Linked DNA regions of Homo sapiens: regions 2, 3 and 4 are each linked to region 1. The links are contacts of gene promoters, found by promoter capture Hi-C in blood cells and fetal thymus (Javierre and others, 2016). All regions are on one chromosome and are shown on one strand. Each heading gives the region's core, a stretch centred on a gene start or on the middle of the fragment in contact. The rest is flanking DNA. Distances are from core to core; before and after follow the strand shown. Region 1 holds the start of COX11 (cytochrome c oxidase copper chaperone COX11). Region 2 has its middle 26 kb from the start of HLF. Region 3 overlaps HLF (HLF transcription factor, PAR bZIP family member). Region 4 has its middle 4.8 kb from the start of HLF.

Evidence for each region. Contacts are between HindIII fragments. The CHiCAGO score rates a contact against its expected background, and 5 or more counts as called.
Region 2: a fragment that was not itself captured here is called in contact with the fragment with the promoter of COX11 in region 1 in 6 of 17 cell types (fetal thymus, non-activated CD4 T cells, naive CD4 T cells and 3 more); the score reaches 9.6 in fetal thymus.
Region 3: a contact is called between a fragment that was not itself captured here and the fragment with the promoter of COX11 in region 1, in 1 of 17 cell types (naive CD8 T cells). The highest score is 6.9, in naive CD8 T cells.
Region 4: a fragment that was not itself captured here is called in contact with the fragment with the promoter of COX11 in region 1 in 7 of 17 cell types (fetal thymus, non-activated CD4 T cells, naive CD4 T cells and 4 more); the score reaches 8.6 in fetal thymus.

Annotation. Positions count from the first base shown.
Region 1 is chr17:54,965,536-54,970,455 of GRCh38, reverse strand. It overlaps COX11 (cytochrome c oxidase copper chaperone COX11), which reads left to right and starts at 1,802. Exons shown (of 4, transcript NM_004375.5): 1 at 1,802-2,175. The coding sequence starts at 1,810. It overlaps STXBP4 (syntaxin binding protein 4), which reads right to left and starts at 1,691. Exons shown (of 18, transcript NM_178509.6): 1 at 1,641-1,691. RefSeq lists enhancers at 1,374-1,423, 1,504-1,603, 834-1,782, 1,784-1,863, 1,874-1,933 and 1 more. The HindIII fragment of the contact is 10,915 bases long and covers 1,542-4,920 here.
Region 2 is chr17:55,236,856-55,241,321 of GRCh38, reverse strand. No RefSeq gene overlaps it. Among named protein-coding and RNA genes, the nearest start is that of HLF, 26 kb to the left of the region's middle. RefSeq lists a silencer at 2,650-3,119. The HindIII fragment of the contact is 1,167 bases long and covers 1,154-2,320 here.
Region 3 is chr17:55,324,453-55,329,233 of GRCh38, reverse strand. It overlaps HLF (HLF transcription factor, PAR bZIP family member), which reads right to left. Exons shown (of 4, transcript NM_002126.5): 4 at 4,047-4,781. Among named protein-coding and RNA genes, the nearest start is that of HLF, 62 kb to the right of the region's middle. RefSeq lists an enhancer at 1,212-1,506. The HindIII fragment of the contact is 9,433 bases long and covers 1-4,781 here.
Region 4 is chr17:55,257,793-55,262,609 of GRCh38, reverse strand. No RefSeq gene overlaps it. Among named protein-coding and RNA genes, the nearest start is that of HLF, 4.8 kb to the left of the region's middle. The HindIII fragment of the contact is 2,378 bases long and covers 1,424-3,801 here.

The sequences.
Region 1 (4,920 bases), core at 553-3,052:
CAATTTTCTGGCCCTGTGACCACAAGTTAATCAATTACTCACTCAAGGTGACCATCATCACTCATGTGGACTACTGCAATTGCTTCCTAATTGTTCTACTTCCATTCCTCCCCCTACCTTTAATCCATTCTCCACAAAGTAATCAATATCTTTTCAAAAATGTGAGTCAGATCACATCACTTGTATGTGTCAAACATTCCAATAGCTTCCTATTACTTTTAGAATAAAATCCAAACCCTTGGACATGGCTTAAAAGGCTGGTATTACCAGGCCTTTGTTACCTGTTCTGACCCCATTTCCTACCACTTTCCACTCTGCTATGTTGGGAACACAGTGGCCTTCTTTCTGTTCTTCAATCATTCTATCTCTTTCCTTCCCCTGGGCCTTTGCTTGGCCTGGAATTGTTATTGAGTAGGTAGCTCCTTATCATCGTTCAGATCTAAACTCAAATGTCACCTCTTCAAAACGTCCTTACTTTACTACCGCTTCTCATGACTGTCAATCATACTATGTTATTACATTGTCTTCACTGCACTGATTGTTATCTGAAATTCCCTTATTTCGGTAACTGTTACTTGATTATTTTCTGAGTCCCTCAGCAGAAAGGACACTCCATCACTGAAGTGATCTCCCGACTTGTTCTGTGCTATAGTGCCAGCAGGTCGATTGGTGTCAGGCCCACAGTTGAGAGGGCAATAAATAAATAAAATGTCGAATGACTAGTTAAAATTTCTCAGGCCTCCAAGTTCCTCATCCACATAGTGGGGATAATTATACCTGCTCTGGCCATTAGAAATGGCCACGTAGCAAGTAGAAATACAGCCTAACTTTTAACTACATTCTTACTATGCCTCAGTCATCATGAAAGACGTTATATGAATATTATTCATTTACTGTTCTGATTTCCATTTTACAAGTAAGGACACCAGGTCTTAGAGGACAAGTAACTGACCTAAGGGCACAGGGCCATGGTGAGGACCCGGGTAAAAATCCAGAACCCCCTAACCTCAGAACCTGAGCTCTTAACTGCTATTTTATAGTTTCTAGAAAGATGCTTCCTTCTAACACAGTAAAATCCGCTATGCTGTCTGCCCCCCTCGAGTTCGTCCTGTGGGACAACTGAAGAAAGCTATTACATCCTCCCACGGGGTTCGTTTCTTTCAGTCTCTCCTTAAATGGCCCTCCTATCCTGGTCACTCTCTCCAGAACAAACTTCAGCGTGACAGCCTCCCTCCTGCTCCAGCTGTGGTGCTTTCCACTGGGCAAGTTGTAAGGGGCATCAGAGCAGGGGAAGCCGACTGCCCACGGGCTGAGAAAATGCAGGTGTCGTGGGTGCCCATGAGGGCTGCGGTTAACACAGCAAGGCTTCCTGAGAGAGGTGATACTTGAACTAAGTCCAGGGCAGTGAGCACAGGAGCCAGCGGCCAAGGGACCCCAGGAGAAAAGACCGCGGGAGAGCGTCGCCGGGGCTGCCGGGTCGAGACAAAGGCTGGTGGAGTTTAAATAAAGATCACAGGCGCAACCCCAAGTGATGGCAAGCTTGCACGCGGACGGGCGAAACGCATTTTCCTAAATGTTAAGAGACGTTCTGGCGAGAAGCGAAGTGGGAGTAACAGTCACAAAGCAAAACGCAAACTTACCCGTAATCTGGCAACCCGGCCTCCGTAGCCCGACTGCAAGCGCTGCCACCTGAGGAGCCTGGTAGCCAAGGCAGCGGCAGGCTCAACCCAGATCTCGCGAGACGGAGCACGCCTCGCGAGATTTGACCTCTCGTCCCTGAGAGGCGGGTGGGTGTTAGTTCAGAGGGTTATGGGAGGGCTCTGGCGTCCTGGATGGAGGTGCGTTCCTTTCTGTGGCTGGCGCTGGATCCACCCTGGGTCTCCAACCAGGGCTGCAGAGAGGGTAGAGCCGTTTCTTAGGCCAGAGTGGAGTGGGACAGGAGGTGCCGAGAGAGGACTGAGGTGGCTTGGGACATGGAAGCGCTGCAGCCTTCGAGCCCGGCATCCAGCATTGCAGCCGCCGCGGCGGCCTAAGAGCTCGAACCCTTTCACACGCGCGCAGGAGGAGGAGCGGCGGCGGCAGAACAAGACGACCCTCACTTACGTGGCCGCTGTCGCCGTGGGCATGCTGGGGGCGTCCTACGCTGCCGTACCCCTTTATCGGCTCTATTGCCAGGTAGGGGCCGGCGCCGCCCGCAGGGTGGCGCAGACGCGAGAGGTGGGGGTGCAAGACAAATCCCGGGACAAGCCCTCGCTCTGCGGGTCGTAGGTGGAAGAGGTTTCCGATATTATCTACCTAAGAGGAGAGAGGTTCAAAACAGTCACTTAACACCCAAAGTCACCAAAGAAATTGGTGACAAAACTGCAAGTAGCATCCAGTTCTTAGTGATTGTGCTTATACCATGCTGCAGAGTGAAACCCCTGATCTATGAACTGCACCTCGCCAAAAAAAAAAAAAAAGGTCCGCAGCCTCTAACCGGGTATCTAGCAGTCTGCCTTACCCTCCTGCGCACACACGCTTTTAAAATGTATTATTCATACATTCACTCTGCAAACCACATGTGGTTTATGTGCCAAGGGTAACTCTGGAAATTGGACTACTCGTGTTTCTTGGGCTTAAACTGGGATTAGCAGTTCCTCCGTACAAAGAGGCATGAATTAGGCCTTTGAGGCTCTCTCGCCCCACCCCTGTTAATATATAACTGTAATGTACTTAACCTGGAAACTGTTAAGTACATTGCAACGGTTCTGGGAGTGTGGCGCCCAGGACCGGCAGCATCAGCATCACCCGGGAACCTGTTAAAAGTGCAAATTCTAGGGCCCGACTCCAGGACTGAGTCAGAAACACGGGGTGGGGGGGTGGGGCGGGGAGAAGAAGGGGAGTGGGACCAGCACTCTATATTTTAGTTAAGTCCTGTAGTTGATTTTGAGGGCAAGTTTTGAGAACCACAGGCAAAGACAAGTTTCACGTATTTTAGAGATTTCTCCTTTGTTCTTAGCTAATAATTTGCAGCTTTGGCTGGCCATTAGGATCACCTATGGAGCTTAACGTTAAATACACGTTCCAGGGATCCCCTACCCCAGAGATTCTGGTTAGGAAGTCTAGGGTAGGGACAGGAATTTCGGTTTAAAAATCATGCCACAAGTGATTCAGTAAGTGTTTAAGATAGTGGCTCCCAAAATTCATTGTACAGCAACATTGGGAATCACCTGGACAGCTTCTAAAAATCCACACACATTACCCATTTTATCACAAGGCCACAGTGGGAACCAGGCATCAGTAATTGTCAAGTATGTTTTAGGTGATTCCAGCGTGCAGGAAAGTTTGGGAATTGTTTTTTTAACACCATGACTGGTATTCTTAGCTGGAGTTCACTCTTTCCGTGTGTGTGTGTGTGTGTGTGTGTGTGTGTGCGCGCGCGCGCACGTTTATTTATTTAAATTTGTAGAGACGAGGTCTCCCTATGTTGCTCAGGCTGGTCTCAACTCCTGGGCTCAAGTGACCCTCCTGCCTTGGCCTCCCAAAGTGCTGGGATTACAGGCGTGAGCCACCATGCCCGTGGAAATCAATTTACCTTTCTTTTAGATGATGAAGCAGAAGACAAAAGGACTTTTCTTTTCTGGCATAGTCTCCTAATGCCAGCATTTATGTGGGAATGTGCAATAGTTGATTTTGAGGATGAGTATAGAATGTGAATTACTTTTCATCAGAGACCAAGCCCAAGCATGAATTCTAAAACTACCAGTTGGTTAAATCATAAGCAGAACTGAATCCAAATCAGCAAATCTAGATCCTTCTCAGACCGCCAGGAGATTTTTGCCCCTCAGGGAACATTTAGCGATGTGTGAAGACATTTTTGGTTGTCACAACATGGAGGTGGGGGTATAGGGTGCTACTGGCATCTAATAGGTAGAGGCTAGGAATGCTACTAAATAACCAACAAAGCACTGCCTCACCCCCAAACAACAAAAAATTATTCAGCCCAAAATGTCCATAGTTCTAAGATTGAGAAACCCTGCCCCAAACTGAAATAACTGATAATATTGCGTGTGAAATGTGCCCACATGCAATCATAGATCAGGAAGCCAAATGTAATTTGTAATCTATCAGGTTCTTAGAGCTAGTAGCACAACTAGAATAGAGACCAGGACATCTTTTTAGTGCTGTTTTCTAGTCTTTTTGTCTATTTTACTTTAGGCATTGAACTTAGAAATTTGAACCCATATTCAAAGACTATATTGGAATCTTTATTGAGGGAGGACACTTAAAAGTATTTTTATTTAAGTGACTTAAATTTTTTAGTAAAAGAAGTTACATCTTAAACACAGCACTCAGGCAGAAGGATAAACAAGGATAAAGGCTTGCCCTCTGATGCATCTTTTAGGGATATAATGTAATTCAGTAATGTTGCATGGCAGTCAAATGAAGTTAGTTGACTTGCGTAACAAACAGAGAATGCTAAAACACTGTATCTTGCTGGGAGTCTTCCCCTAGCCTCAAATTTGTTTTTTGTTTTTTCTTCCTAGCATAGTAACAGGCAAATTATCCAGAAATCAGAATTCTGGCAACCTCAAGTATCAGAAGAAAGATGACCTTGGAAGTAAGGGCGTTTTTTTTTTTCTTTTGAGATGGAGTCTTGCTCTGTTGCCCAGGCTGGAGTGCAGTGGTGTGATCTCGGCTCACTGCAACCTCCGCCTCCCGGGTTCAAGCAATTCTTCTGCCTCAGCCTCCCGAGTAGACCTGGGACTACAGGCGCGTGTCACCACACCCGGCTAATTTTTTTCTATTTTTAATAGAGACGGGGGTTCACTGTGTTAGCCAGGATGGTCTCCATCTCCTGACCTCATGATCCGCCCCCCGTGGCTTCCCAAAGTGCTGGGTAAGGGCTTTTTTTAAAAGTGATGTCAAGGAAATAACTGT
Region 2 (4,466 bases), core at 488-2,987, 270 kb before region 1:
GTACAGGCTTCAAGTGTAGTTTGATCAGGGTGTAGCTTCCTCTGCTTCTCCCTGTTTATCAGGTGTGTGGTTGGGTTGGATCCTCTCGAGGTGGAAAGAGGGCATCAGTAGTTATACCTGCTCTTCCATTCCTGTCCAAGGAGAAAGGATGGCATCGAGTAACTATAACAAGTCCAGGCTTTCCTCTGATTGAACCAGTCATTGTTACACTAATAATAACAACAGTAACAACAACTAATACTTCATGTACTCTTAATATATGTCAGGCACTCTTCTAAGTGCATCTGCTGCAGGAACTCTTTCAATCCTCATAAAAAGAGGAATGGTGGAAACAAACTAAATGTCTATCAACAGATGAATGCATAAAGCAAATATGGTATAGACATACAATGGAATTCTATTCAACCATAATAAGAAGGCAATTCTGCAATATAAAATGAGATAGATGAACCTTGCATACGTTATGCTAAGTGAAATAAGCCAGTCACAGAAAGACAAACACTGCATGATTCCACTTATCTGAGGAACTCAAAATAGTCAAATTCAAAGACTCAAAAAGTGGAAAGGTGGTTTCCAGGGGCTGGGGAGGGGACAAAATGGGGAGTTACCAATTAGTGGGCATAAAGTTTCAGTCAAGCAAGATGAATAAGTTCTAGAGATCTGCCGTACAACATTGCACCTATAATCAACAATAATGTTTCACACTTAAAAAATTTTAGAAGGGTAGATCTCATGTTAAATGTTATTATAATAAAATTTTAAAGGCAAATAAATAAACAGAAAACCCAAACGAAACGAAACAAAAAACAATGGGACCACCCTGATTTGTTAATTTGGTCAAGCCCAACCCCTGAACTGAGAGAGGAGGTAAGGCCCCCCACCAGCTGAAATTATAAGACTGATACACAAGGTGAAGGATAGATATTAGGAAAATAACCGCAGTATGAACTACAACCATGTGTTTGAAAAGTTATAACTCTGTTCCATGCTTCAGATTTCCTTAGTGATCTAGCTTAATACAGGCAAAACCAAGATACGTTCTCCTTTCATTGTCCACATTACTTACATTACCTTTCGTCACAAATGTTCTAATGTCACAGTATTGTTTTCTTCTTGCAGATACAGATGCCAACAGAAATTGAGTTAGGAAGCTTGCAGGCTTCCAGAAATTCATCAACACCTGATCAGCTTTTCTGCTGCAAGTTAAAGTGACCTCTGAAGAGGTCAAACCCTAGGTCCCTTTGATTCTGCTACTGTTCTGACATTTGCAGAGGGGTGTGAAAACCTCTTTGCTTGTTCTGGCTTGTGTGAGCTGCTTTATCTCTTACCCTAGACGTACAGTAAGAAAAGAGCAATCAGAGACAGGCATTTGGTGAGGCTTTAGTTTGTCCCACTTTCACTCCTGCCCCCACCTCCCACCTTGTCCATGTTAGGTGTTCCCTGTAAGAATGAAATGTACTGATCCGATATTTTCCCATTTTTAAACTTGAATTCAATTAGACTTTTGTCATGGGTCATATAAAGCAGAAATGCATGTGTATTATGATTTCTGGCATATTCTAATGAATCAAGTGTTAATGTCATAAGGCTTCATTGATTTGAAATAACGGGCAATTTACTGACTGAAGGCTAAATATTGGTACAAATGAGTACAACATATTTTTGAAAATAATTTGGCAATACTTTATCAAAAGTTACAAAATATTTGTGTCTTTTATATAGCAATCCCACTCCTAGGGGTTATTAAAAGTGGAGGGGGGAAGCCTCATGCACAACAATGTTCATTCAAGACTGTCTTAGAATAATATAAATGTAAACAATACATATTCTAACCATATGCATGACTAAGACAATTATAGTAAAAACTTCTTAGAGGAAAATATTATGTAACTATTAGTTATTCCCTTTGTTTGGAACACTTTCCACCCCCTCTGCCTTATTTCTCTGCCAGCTAACTCCCACTTAGTCTTCAAGACTCAGGGTACCCACCACTGTGCTTATATAACACCTGGGCACACCTCTATTAAAACATGTATAGCCCACTGCATTGTAACCCATGATTTTGCCTGTTAGTGCCCTCCACTGGATTGCAACTCACTGAGGCAGAGTCTGTCATTTGTGCAACAAGTTAAAAATCAGAAAGCAATGGGGCAATAAATAAAATTATTTCTGATATATAGAATTTAGCTTCAGCTAATTCAGACCTGCCTTCGTTCCCTGCTCCCAACCCCCTCCAGCCTCCAGCAGCAGCAGCAGCAGCAGCAGCAGCAGCAGCGCCCCTGAAGTCTCTTGTGGAAGGTGAGAAATCTACCGATAAGCTTTCTAGTAGGAGTGTCTTTGGGGAGGGAGTGAGTGGGAGATTAGAAATGGGGCCGGTGGAATATTCCTGCAAAACTCCAGGAACCATTAGCATTCCACTTCTTCTTACAAAGATTGTTTTCATGTCTGAGTTGCCCTATATAGTGCAGAAATTGAGAATGCAAACGTGCAAACGATCGGTGTGATCTACTGAAAGGCGATGCGCGTTCCCTTCTTGCAGGCAGAACTGCCTTAGGAAGCATGAAAGTGGACGCAGCCCGGTGCCAGGTGTCAGCGATTTGAGCTCGCTTCCGGGCCCCATTCATTTCCAGCCCGGCTCCCAGATACTTCCCGAGGCGCTCCCTTTTGCCCGCCCGACTTCTGAGCGGAGCGCTCGGGTGTGAGGAGAACCGGCAAATCCTCGCGGGCGCTGGGCGCTCGCGGAGCCGCCCGCGCCCAGCCCCGTCACGTTGGCTGCCGAGCGCATCCCGGCTGCGCCCCGGCGGGGAGGCGCCGAGGGTAGCTAAGGGGAGCAGGTCACGTGAGAGGAGGAGTCTGACCTACTTTCCAGGCGGTAGGCGCATGCGCACTTCCCATCTGCGCTCCGGCCGGGAGGCTCACGTGGAATCGCACGTGCCTGGTCCTGCAGCTAGGGGCTCCTGGCCCGGGGCGCGCAGGGGCGGGTCCGCGGTGGGACCCGCGGAGAGGGGCGCGGCGGGGCGGAGCGCTTGGAGACTCAGTCTGCGGGTCCCGCAATCATCATCCGTGACAACCACAGCCTCTGGAGAGCTGCTTAGGCTCCCTGCGGGGCTTCCCACGAATTCATCACATTCAACATTCGTGAATTCAGAAATTAAGACAAAGACTGCACCTCTGCCCTGTAAATCACTAGTTCCGCAACTCAGAATTTATCCTGCAAATGGGCTTCTGCTCCTGCGAAGTGAAGTCCCTGCAAGGATAATCATTACATCATTGTTGGACATCACAAACGGCCAGAAACAGTCAAAATGTCCAACGATAACACCGGTTAAATTCATAGAAACGTAAATTATGGTTGGGCCACACTTGAAGTTGTCTGCAGCTCTTAAAAACAAATAGACTCTGCTCTCTAGACACTGATATGGAAAGACCTTCAAGATACATTATGTGATTTGTAAAAAAAAATGATGCAGAACAGTGTCTGGGATGCTGACATTTGTGAGGAAAAAAATTATATATGTATATATGTTATGATCAGACTAGTTCTGGAAAAATATATTGGATGACTGGGGGTGGGGGTCAGGGAAGACGCGAGACTCCATACTTATGTAACTTTTAAATTTTGTACCATGGATGATTAATCTTTTTTTTTTTTTTTCCAAATAACATTTAAAAACAGTTATTTAGCACTTACCCTGTGCTGGGCACCAGCTTTTATGTAAATCATTTCCTCCTAGAAAGTTTGTCATGTACAGTATCTGCCGCATTTCCTGTTCTGTTCAGCTTGAATCTTAATGTCTTAAGCTTTCTGATACACAGTTGAGACGTTTTTTAAAATCCCGATATGAACAACCGAAGCCCTCCACATCTTTAAGATTCTTTTCAAGTTCTGTCTCTTGAGGGAAAGTATCTTAACCAAGAGGCTCTCAGCAACAAATACTTGCATAATAAAGCTGACACAGCAGTTTCACATATGTGATTAGCTTTTACTCTCCCGATTGTGAGTTTGTAGTGCAGATATTATTATCACTGTGGTTAGTACATATGTGCCGGTTATATTCGGTTGCAAGTTAACTAAAAGTCCAACTCTAAGTGGCTTGAACGGTAAAGCTCATTTAACTTCAGATTGGATGTTGGATTTCAGGGATACATCGATTTGCCTGCTAAACAATGCCATCAGGAACTTGTTTCTTTCTAATCTTCTGCCAAGGTTTCCATAGTGTCAGCTTCATCTAAAGCTTTGGGAGGCCGGGAGCGGTTGCTCACGCCTGTAATCCTAGCACTTAGGGAGCCTGAGGCGGGCAGACTGCCTGAGCTCAGGAGTTCGAGACCAGCCTGGGCAACATGGTGTAACTCCGTCTCTACTAAAAAATACAAAAATTAGCCAGGCGTGGTGGCTCACGCCTGCAGTCCCGGCTACTCAGGAGGCTGAGGCACGAAAATCACTTGAGCCTGGGAGGCGGAGGTTG
Region 3 (4,781 bases), core at 1,160-3,659, 360 kb before region 1:
GCCAGTACTTAGAGCAGCTATTACATCCTTTGCAACTATTTAAACTTGTGATTAAAAAAATTTTAGTTGTCAACTTTATAATGTGCAATGTGGATTCATGGTTTAAAAAGAATTTTTGGGAGCATGTGAGCAAAAAAACTGAAAGACCAGTGCTCTAAGAAATGGTAGGCCTCATCTTGAAGTGAGTACCTGAATAACTGGGGCTGGGGATGAAGGGGGCACTGAGTGGCCAGGGAGAGAATTTGGATTCGGGAGAGGATAATGAGTAGAAAAGCTGATCTGGAAGTAGAGGCTGCTTCCCCTGTGATATGGTTTGGCTGTGTCCCCACCCAAATCTTGTCTTGAATTGTAGCTCCCACAATCCTGTGTCATGGGAGGGACCTGGTGGGAGGTAATTGAATTATGGGGGCAGGTTTTTCCCGTGCTGTTCTTGTGATAGTGAATAAGTATCACAAGATCTGATGGTTTTATAAGGGGCAGTTCCCCTGCACATACTCTCTCACCTGCTGCCATGTAAGATGTGCCTTTGCTCCTCCTTCACCTTCTGCTAGGATTGTGAGGCCTCCTCAGCCATGTGGAACTGTAAGTCCATCAAACCTCTTTTTCTTTATGCATTACCCAGTCTCAGGTATTTCTTCACAGCAGCACAAAAATGGACTAATACACCCTGAGAGCAATTGAACAATTCTGGACAGTGTTCAAACGCAGGATAAATGGAGGGAAGAGGTAGGCAGTGATGTTCTGAAGGTCCAACCCAGTAGGCTTAGCCTAACCAGGGTGGGAGGTCTGTCCAGAAGGTGGACAAACCTCAAAGTCAGGTATGTGAGGGGTGATGAGCCTAGATTACAGTTGGGAACCTGGCAAAGATGTCAAGACCTCAAATTAAGGACACTGGGCTTCAGAAGAAGGTCCTCATATTAGGGTTAGGCTAATCAGCAGTTAGGCCATGCAACAAGAAACCCCAGTATCTCAATGGTTTAATACAGCGAGGCTTTTTCCTTCCTCGTGTAACAGTTTGATGACTTAGTGTCATGCCAGACCCCTATTAATCTCAACAGGGAAGGAACCATGTTTGAGAGGCTGAAGAAGAAACCCAGAGCTAGCAAATGAGATATAAATTATTATTAGAGGAAATTTACATGTAGGGATGGTCCAGTGGCAGTGGGCCAGACAGAACTACAACCACTTGCAAATAGTATGTAGTTTATAAAATAGCATTTCCACTTCGCACCCTCCCCTTAACAACCTCCACCTGACAACCTTCATTTAACCCAAAACAGAGGACTATGATCCCCTGTATGGCTCGTGGTCCTTGGGACAGGCTGAGGGTTCAGATGTTCGTCACAGATAAAGAATGAACCTCCAGGCTGGCCACTCCCAGATTCCTGAGCTTGGAACTCTGAACACACATTCAGCTGTGTCTGCCATACAGGGTCATTCTCAGAGTATGCTGAAGTTATTGCTGTCAGGTGCGTTTGCCATATACTCAGGGACCTGGGTCCCTTCCTTCTTAGTCTCCATCTTCTCCAGGAGCCAGAAAAAAAGGAGAGAGAGAGCATCAGGTGGCACTGTTTATGGGCCTTTCATGGAAGTGACACCTGGGGTTACTTCTGCTTATGTTCCTTTGGACAGAATTCAGTTGAATGGTCATACTAGAGGTAAGGGAGTCTGGAAAAAGTGGTCTACTTGAATGTCCAGAAGGTAAATAAATAGGTTTGGTAAACTCCTGATGTTTCCCACCCCTGTCAAACTCTGGGGTCAGGCTTTGGTCTGGGTTAAAAATGCTGATTACCTAATTTCCATAAGCCTGTTTCTTTATCTGCAAAACAGGGATAATAATAGTACCTGTTTTGTAGTGTGAGGATTAAATGAGATGTGGAAGGCACAGGTTTAGGACTCAGTAACTGTTATCTCTCTATACCATTTCCAGGCATTGTGCCAGGCTTTGCAGGATAAAAAGAAGTTAGAGACAGGGACTTTGGATCCAAGTCCTCCCTGACTCAAAACCCAGAGAGGCAGAGGATGCTTGCCACCTTTGACTAGTCCTATCTCCTCCAAAGGGTCCTTTTGATTTATTAGCAAGAAGCCATCTTCTGACCACAAAGACAAGATTTCAAAGTTCTCACCCAGTTCCTAGCTAAAGATGTCCAAAGAGACTTCTAAGCCAATGATTTTCAACAAGGAAATTGAAGTTGTATGCTTTGAAGAGAGGGGCTTGATTGGGTGGCATCTTATGCTTAAGTGTGCATGGAAGAGCCATCCTACATGCAGCATGTGATGGGCCCCCAGGGACTGAGGACTTGTGTATGACTGGGAGTCTACGCAGCTTGGCTTCATATCAGTTCTTGCCATCTCGGATCCAAATGCTCTCCAGGCATGAAGTCATTTCCTCCAAGAGATTTGAAGATGCCCCAGAAGAATCTTAGGCTAAGGTCACTATTCTTAAGCTAAGGTCACTATTCTTATTCCTCTGAGAAAGGTGAAAGGTGGGTTGGGTGCAGTGGCTCACGCCTGTAATCCCAGCACTTTAGGAGGTCGAGGTGGGTGGATCACGAGGTCAAGAGATCGAGACCATCCTGGCCAACACGGTGAAACCCTGCCTCTACTAAAAATACAAAACTTAGCTGGGCATGGTGGCACGTGCCTGTAGTCCCAGCTACTTGGGAGGCTGAGGCAGGAGTCGCTTGAACCCAGGAGGCTGAGGTTGCAGTGAGCTGAGATCGCACCACTGCGCTCCAGCCTGGTAACAGAGTGAGACTCCACCTCAACAACAACAACAACAAAAAGGTGAAAGGTGTTTGATGGATGAAAATAGAGCTGAACCCTAACTTGTAACCACTCAATTTTAACTAGAGGTTGTCACCAAGTAAGAGATGCCCATCGACCTTGTGCACAAAGCTGGCGCTAGTCTATGAACTGTTGGTGAAGTCACACTATGAAACAACGTCTCTACCACCCATTCCCATACCATCAGCCATCCTGCTCTGGCATATGAGCAGGGGAATTCTTTTCCGTCCTCTCTGAAGGAACGAATAGTCTGAAATATTGAATTGGAAAAATGCTCAAGGCATCCATTCTACTCTCGTGGGCCCCATGTAGTTATCTGTTGAAGGCCTCGGATGTGCCAGAGACAATTCATTTGTTGTCATTAGTTCCCCCCACAACCCTCAGAAGTGAGTATACCTTCATGTCACAGATGAGATTATGTTCAAAACGGTTTAGAAGCTGCTCAAGGTCACATACCCACTAGGTGACAGATTTGAATCCAGAATTGTACTCCTCAACACAGAGCCCCCTTCTCACTATGCCGGAGATGCTGAGTTTCTTGGCCTGGGCTGCAGCCCCACACAGCCGGTTTTGAGCTCCCCAGGTGAATCTACTGGGCTCCCTGGGCTGAGAACCACTGCTCTACATCAGCCTTCTTACATGAATCAGGGGTTTTATTCCGCCTTGCATCACAGGTTCCTTTAGGGAAGTAAAAAAAAAAAAAAAAAAAAAAAAAGCTACAAGTCTTCTCTACAGCAAAATAAATGTTTATACATAAAAAGTTGCATACAATTTCAGATAATTATGGCATCTCTGAAGCCTCTGCGTGGATCCCCCAAGGGTCATGAACTTGAATTAAGAGCCAAGTCTATAAATCCTTGACACCAATTACTTGGCTGCAGATGGAAGTTGGCTGGGATCAGTTTAAAAATTCAGATTTCTGGGCCCCATCCAAGAACTACTGATTCAGAATCTCTGGATTTATACTCCTAGATGTTGCTGAATTATTCTTTATATATTAGAGAACAAGACAGTCTGTGGACTGGCTTTTGGGAACCACCCCTCTAAATAATGCCCACTCCAGGGATCAGAATTCATCTCAGCCACTTTTACCTCTGTAACATTAGGTAAGCTACGTGACTCTCCTAACTTTCCATTTTGTCTTCTGTAAATGGGGATAATAATTGTCCCTACCTCATAGAGCTAATATGGAATAAAATATTCCATCTAAGTGTTTAGCACAGTGTCTGGCACATAACTACCCAATAAATGTTAATTTATTACTAATTATATAGTATTATCATTTTATTATCTAGGTAATAATCTCTACAAATGGTCTCTTTGCTACCGAGGTGGGAACAGAATACCATTGCTAGCCAACTGTTAATAAAAATACATGAAAGAAAGGAAAAAATTCAAAGTTTATTCAACATTAAGAATAACAGACAGATAAAGGTTTGGACTTAACAGCATAAATACCACCAATATCATGGTGTACAATTAAACTAACCTCATGTCAACTTGTACCTGTTTAACAGATGCGATCTTTGTGGTGTTGCCAAAAGGATAATGGATTATTGTTATGTTTGGTAAGGTGCTCAAAATTAAAGACTTTATGTCGACTTATTCACACACATACACACACACACACATGCACGCACACACACACACACACACTCTTACACTTAGCCTCCTGCAAAATGTATTGACTTTAGTTGCTATATCCGATTCGGATAAGGCTTTGCTCATTTTTTAAATGACATTATTAATTGCAGAAAAAACGTGGAGGAGACCTTGGCCTTGCCAGTGGGGGTACCTAGGAGCAGAAGGTGATCGCCACCTGGAGGGCAGATCACTTAGTCTCAGACACCTGCAGGGTGCTGAGACCCCAGTGCTAAATCCAGATCTCCAATTGCCATCACACATAGGCAAGCAGGCCTGGTCCCATGCCTTGGGATCGCTCTAATTGACTGTGATAAAGATTGAGTTTTCCTTAAAGGAAGAATAGGGTAAAA
Region 4 (4,817 bases), core at 1,363-3,862, 290 kb before region 1:
AATTGGTACATCTTTTCTACTCTGGCCATTTGTAAATGTTATTTTCTTTTATTTTTTTAACAAACCATGAACATCTTTCTTTCTCTTTCTCTCTCTCTCTTCCCCAGAAGCAGTTGTGGATGGCTGCTCAAGAGGAAGGAGAGGGATAGAAGAAACCAAAGGTTATATTGGTTGGGTAGTAAGACCCTCTGAATTCCACAGGTTAATTCTCAAATGGACATATCCCTAATGAGCACTAACCCCAATCTGCACATATGCCCAGAGATAACTGCCGCTCACAAGTGCTTAGCACTTGTCCACTTACAGAGCCCTTCCATATGTGTCATATCACATACTTCTGACAATTCCATGAGGAAAGCAATGATGCTGATTATTGATTGCTGTGTAACAGATCACTCCAAAACCTAGTGGCTTAAAACAACAATCATTTTATTATTTCTCATTATTCTGCAATCTAGGTTAGGCTCAGCTGGGATACTGGGCTGGCTGGCCTTCTCTTTCTCTTTACATGGCCTCCTTACACCATAGATTCATTTTGCTTGTTTTATAATTTCATACAAGTGAAATCATACTGTATATACTCTCTTGTGTGTAGCTTCTTTCACTCTGCACAGTATTTTAGACATTCACCAATGTTGCATATAGTTCATTTCTTTATATTAGTGAGTAGTATTCCGCTCTATGAATATACAAAAGTTTATCTGTTGTATTGGTGGACATTTGGGTTGTTTCCAGTTTTTAGGCATGAATAAAATGTTTATGAGAATTCTTGTCTGAGTTCTTTTGTGAACACATGCTTTCCTTTCTCTTGGATAAACAAATAGGAGTAGGATTACTGGATCATAGAAAAGATGTGTGTTTTACTTTAGAAGAAGCTCTTCTATAGTCTTCTGAAGCAGGTAAATTGTCCTGCATTTCCAGCAGCAGTATATGAGAGTTCTGGTTGTTCTAGCGCCTCACCAATATTTAGTGGTGTCAGTTTCTCTTAAAACTTGTAGCCATTCTAGTGGGTGGATAGTCAGTTCTCAATGGACCTTTCATCTGAATTTTCCTGATGAAAAATGATGGCATGTGCTACTTCATGTGCTTCTTAGTAGCTTGTACATCTTCCTGTTCAAGTCTCTTGCCCATTTTTGAATTTGGTTATCTTTTGATTACTGAATTTTAGGAGTTCTTTTATATACTTTGGATAGTCTCTTTGTCAGATGTTTGTGTGTTGTGAATATTTTCTTCCAATCTGTGGCTTGCTGATTAGTTTTTATAATAACGTCTTTCCATGAGCAGTTTTTAATTTTGACAAAGTTCAATTTATCAATTTGTTTTTCATGATTATTGCTTGCTATGAACTAGGAAACTTTTGACTACTCCTGAGTTCTGGAGATATTCTCCTATACTTTCCTTTATAACTTTCATAGTTTAAGCTTTTTCATTTAGCCTTATGACCCATTTCAAATTAATTTTTGTGTATACTATGAGGTAAGGATTAAGGTTGGTTTTACTCATGGGGATATCCAATTGTTTTAGACTTTCATTTCCCCCTTGAATTGTTTGTTGTTGTTGTTTGTTTTGTTTTGTTTTGAGATGGAGTCTCGCTCTTGTTGCCCAGACTGGAGTGCAATGGCGTGATCTCAGCTCACCGCAACCTCCGCCTCCTAGGTTCAAGCAATTCTCCTGCCTCAGCCTCCTGAGTAGCTGGGATTACAGGCACCAGCCGCCACATCCGGCAATTTTTATTAGTATTTTTAGTAGCGATGGGGTATTAGTATTTAGTATTAATATTTTTAGTAGCGACGGGGTTCTCCATGTTGGCCAGGCTGGTCTCGAACTCCCGACCTCAGGTGATCCGTGGACCTTGGCTTCCCAGAGTGCTGGGATTACAGGCGTGAGCCACCGCGCCCGGCCCCCCCTTGAATTCTTTTGATGTTATTGCTGACAATTATTTGACTGTGTATTTGTGGGTGACCCAAACTTTTGATCCCGAGGAAAAATGGGTATTTTATCACTAAGGACAGAATAATGCTATTTCTATGTTCTTTCTAAGTTTCCTGGGATCTGATTCATATCCAGCAACAGAAAAAAGTTCACCAAAGTTTACGGCTAAAATGAATGCCTCACTTTCAGTGGCTCATTCAGTTTGTTGACAAGACCTCTACAAAGTTGTCCACATTAAGTTAGATAAGAGCCAAAAGCAGAGGCATTATCCAATTTGCTTTTTTGTGTATGAGCAAATAATTAAGCCTATTGGATGTCTTTGGTTACAACTAGTAATGCCTCAGTGCTCCTGTCTTAACCTGCATGTGCTTAAACAGTAAGTCAAAACTAAACCTCTTTGTTAGAGAAATTCGAACAAACAAATACTAGATAAAGAACATTTGACAAGCCACTGAAAAACCCTTCAGTTGGCCCTTCAAGGAGAAAGGAATAGCAGAAGCTCTGGAGGTTTAAAACTGTCCTAAAAATAGGAATGACCATAGAAGAAACGTTCCCCAGAATCAACTTCTTAAAGGATGCCAGCACAGCTCTCCTCTGAAGTTCTGGAAATCAGCCTTTTGCCCAGCCAGTGGTTGCCACCTGTCCTGTCATTTCAGAGGTTTTGATAGTGAGATTGGGTGGGGAGTCCTTTGTGCAGCCCGGTGGGGGCAGACGTGAGGCAGCCATTTTGGCACCAGCCTTGCAGGTCTGCAGAGAGAACTTTGCAGTGTAAGCAGTGTTTATGTTTCAGATTCCCAGTGGGTGTGAAGCCTTGTTGAGCACACAATGCCTGCCACTGTAGCCTACTTGGGGCTAGGAGCCTGGGGTGGATGGAGACGAGCACTGTGGTTATGAAGGGCTTTATAGTCTAGTGAGCCAAACCTCTGGATGAACCTGTTTATCTCGTTGTCAGAAAGGGTACTTTATCCAGGGAATTAATTCAGAAGTGAAAGGCATCACGTGGGAGTTAGGCTAGATATGCCTAACCCAGGCTTCTTCCTTCTCTCCTTCCTGAAACCTCTAACTCAGCTAAAGCACCAAAAAGGAAAATTATATCTAATTAGCTTAACTACTGGAGACCCTCAAATCTCTTCACTTGGTGTAGGATCATGGAAACCAAAACAATAAAACATTTGTTGGGAATGCCAAGCCCTCCTCTGAGACTGACTTATGTAAAGGAGCATGAGTCCTTCCCTGTGCTTTCCTTGAGGCTTCCCCGTCCTTTCCCTGAGCCCTGTATTGTTTGGGTAAATGAGTGGGAAAGACTAAGACAGGTAGATCGGTAGAAGAGGTACTAAATCAGGCATGTGTCTGTATGTGTGTTTCAAATCAGAGGATGGTAGGATTTCTATACATGTGATAGGAAGGAGGATGAAAGAAAACTGTATAAAAGAGAAAGAAAAAATACGCGTGGCAAAAGGAGAAGAAAAAAAAATCAGTGCAGTGTGTTGCATAGAATGAACGCAGGATTTGGGGCCAGATATACATTGACACCTGCCACTATTACTACTTCTACTACTACAACAAATGCCAACAACAGCATGAAGAAGGCATAAATTATTGTGTGTTTAACTGTGTTCTGGAGCAACATTAGACCTGTTAAATATATTATCTTATGTATTACTTGGGACAATGATATAGGGTATATTTCATTATTCCCATTTTTCAGATGAGGACAGTGAGGCCCAGAGAAATTAGTGACTTGTCATGATCCTATGGCTAGCTAATACATGGAGAAGCTATGAGTTGAAAACAGGTCTGCTTGACTCCAGTGCTTGCACTCTTAACCTTGCTCCAGTAAATGAAGGACAAACATTCATTCAATAAGCTTACACCGTTTGTAACTGGTTCAAATCCTGCTTCTGTCCCGTGACCTTGGATAACCTCTCTGATCTCAAGTTTCTTTGTGTGAAATATAAACTAATGCCTGTGCTTCCCAGCTTGCAGAGTTGCTAGGAGGATTAAATGAGATAACTCATGTGGAGGTGCTTGGTACATTGTGAAGCGCTAAACAAATGTGAGGGCTTGCTATTTGGGGCTTTTTTGCATTTTCTGGTTTCTCTGCTCCTTTGCAGAGATGCTCCCACTTATGAATCTGCAAAACTGTTGATGTAGTCCATGATATTAGAAGCTACTTTTCATCCAAACACACATCCTTTTTTCTTCTCACCATTTTCTCTCACCAGGGGCAGCTACATTCTATTGCTCCCAGTCTCCAAAAGGGGAATTGAACAATGAGAACACATGGACACAGGAAGGGGAACATCACACACCGGGGCCTGTTGCGGGGTGGGGGGAGGGGGGAGGGATAGCATTTGGAGATATACCTAATGTTAAATGACGAGTTACTGGGTGCAGCACACCAACATGGCACATGTATACATATGTAACTAACCTGCACGTTGTGCACATGTACCCTAAAACTTAAAGTATAATTTAAAAAAAACCAAAAAACACAAGTTTGAAGTTCAATAAAAAAAATCAAATATAGCAGATTCCAAATAGCCACTCAGCCAGAGTCAGGAAAGAATAGATATTTCCTATATCTTCATAAAGGGTGAAGGAATAGAAGTTTGTGGATTAACTAACACTTTAAAATTATTTCAAGTCTAGTAAATGCAACTGAAGGTAGAGACAGTTGAGCTGTAGAGGCAGAAAATCACCATGACTCAGAATCTAGTCTTTAATTTGCTTAGGATCCAATGTCAATTAGGCTGAGTGAAACTGACTGACATCAACCACATTCTAAAATATAACTTGAAAATCAAAATTAAAAATTATATATAATTTCTAAGCTGCACTTCAGGCTCTTTTATGTGCATGGGAAATATAAGACCAGGTATCCT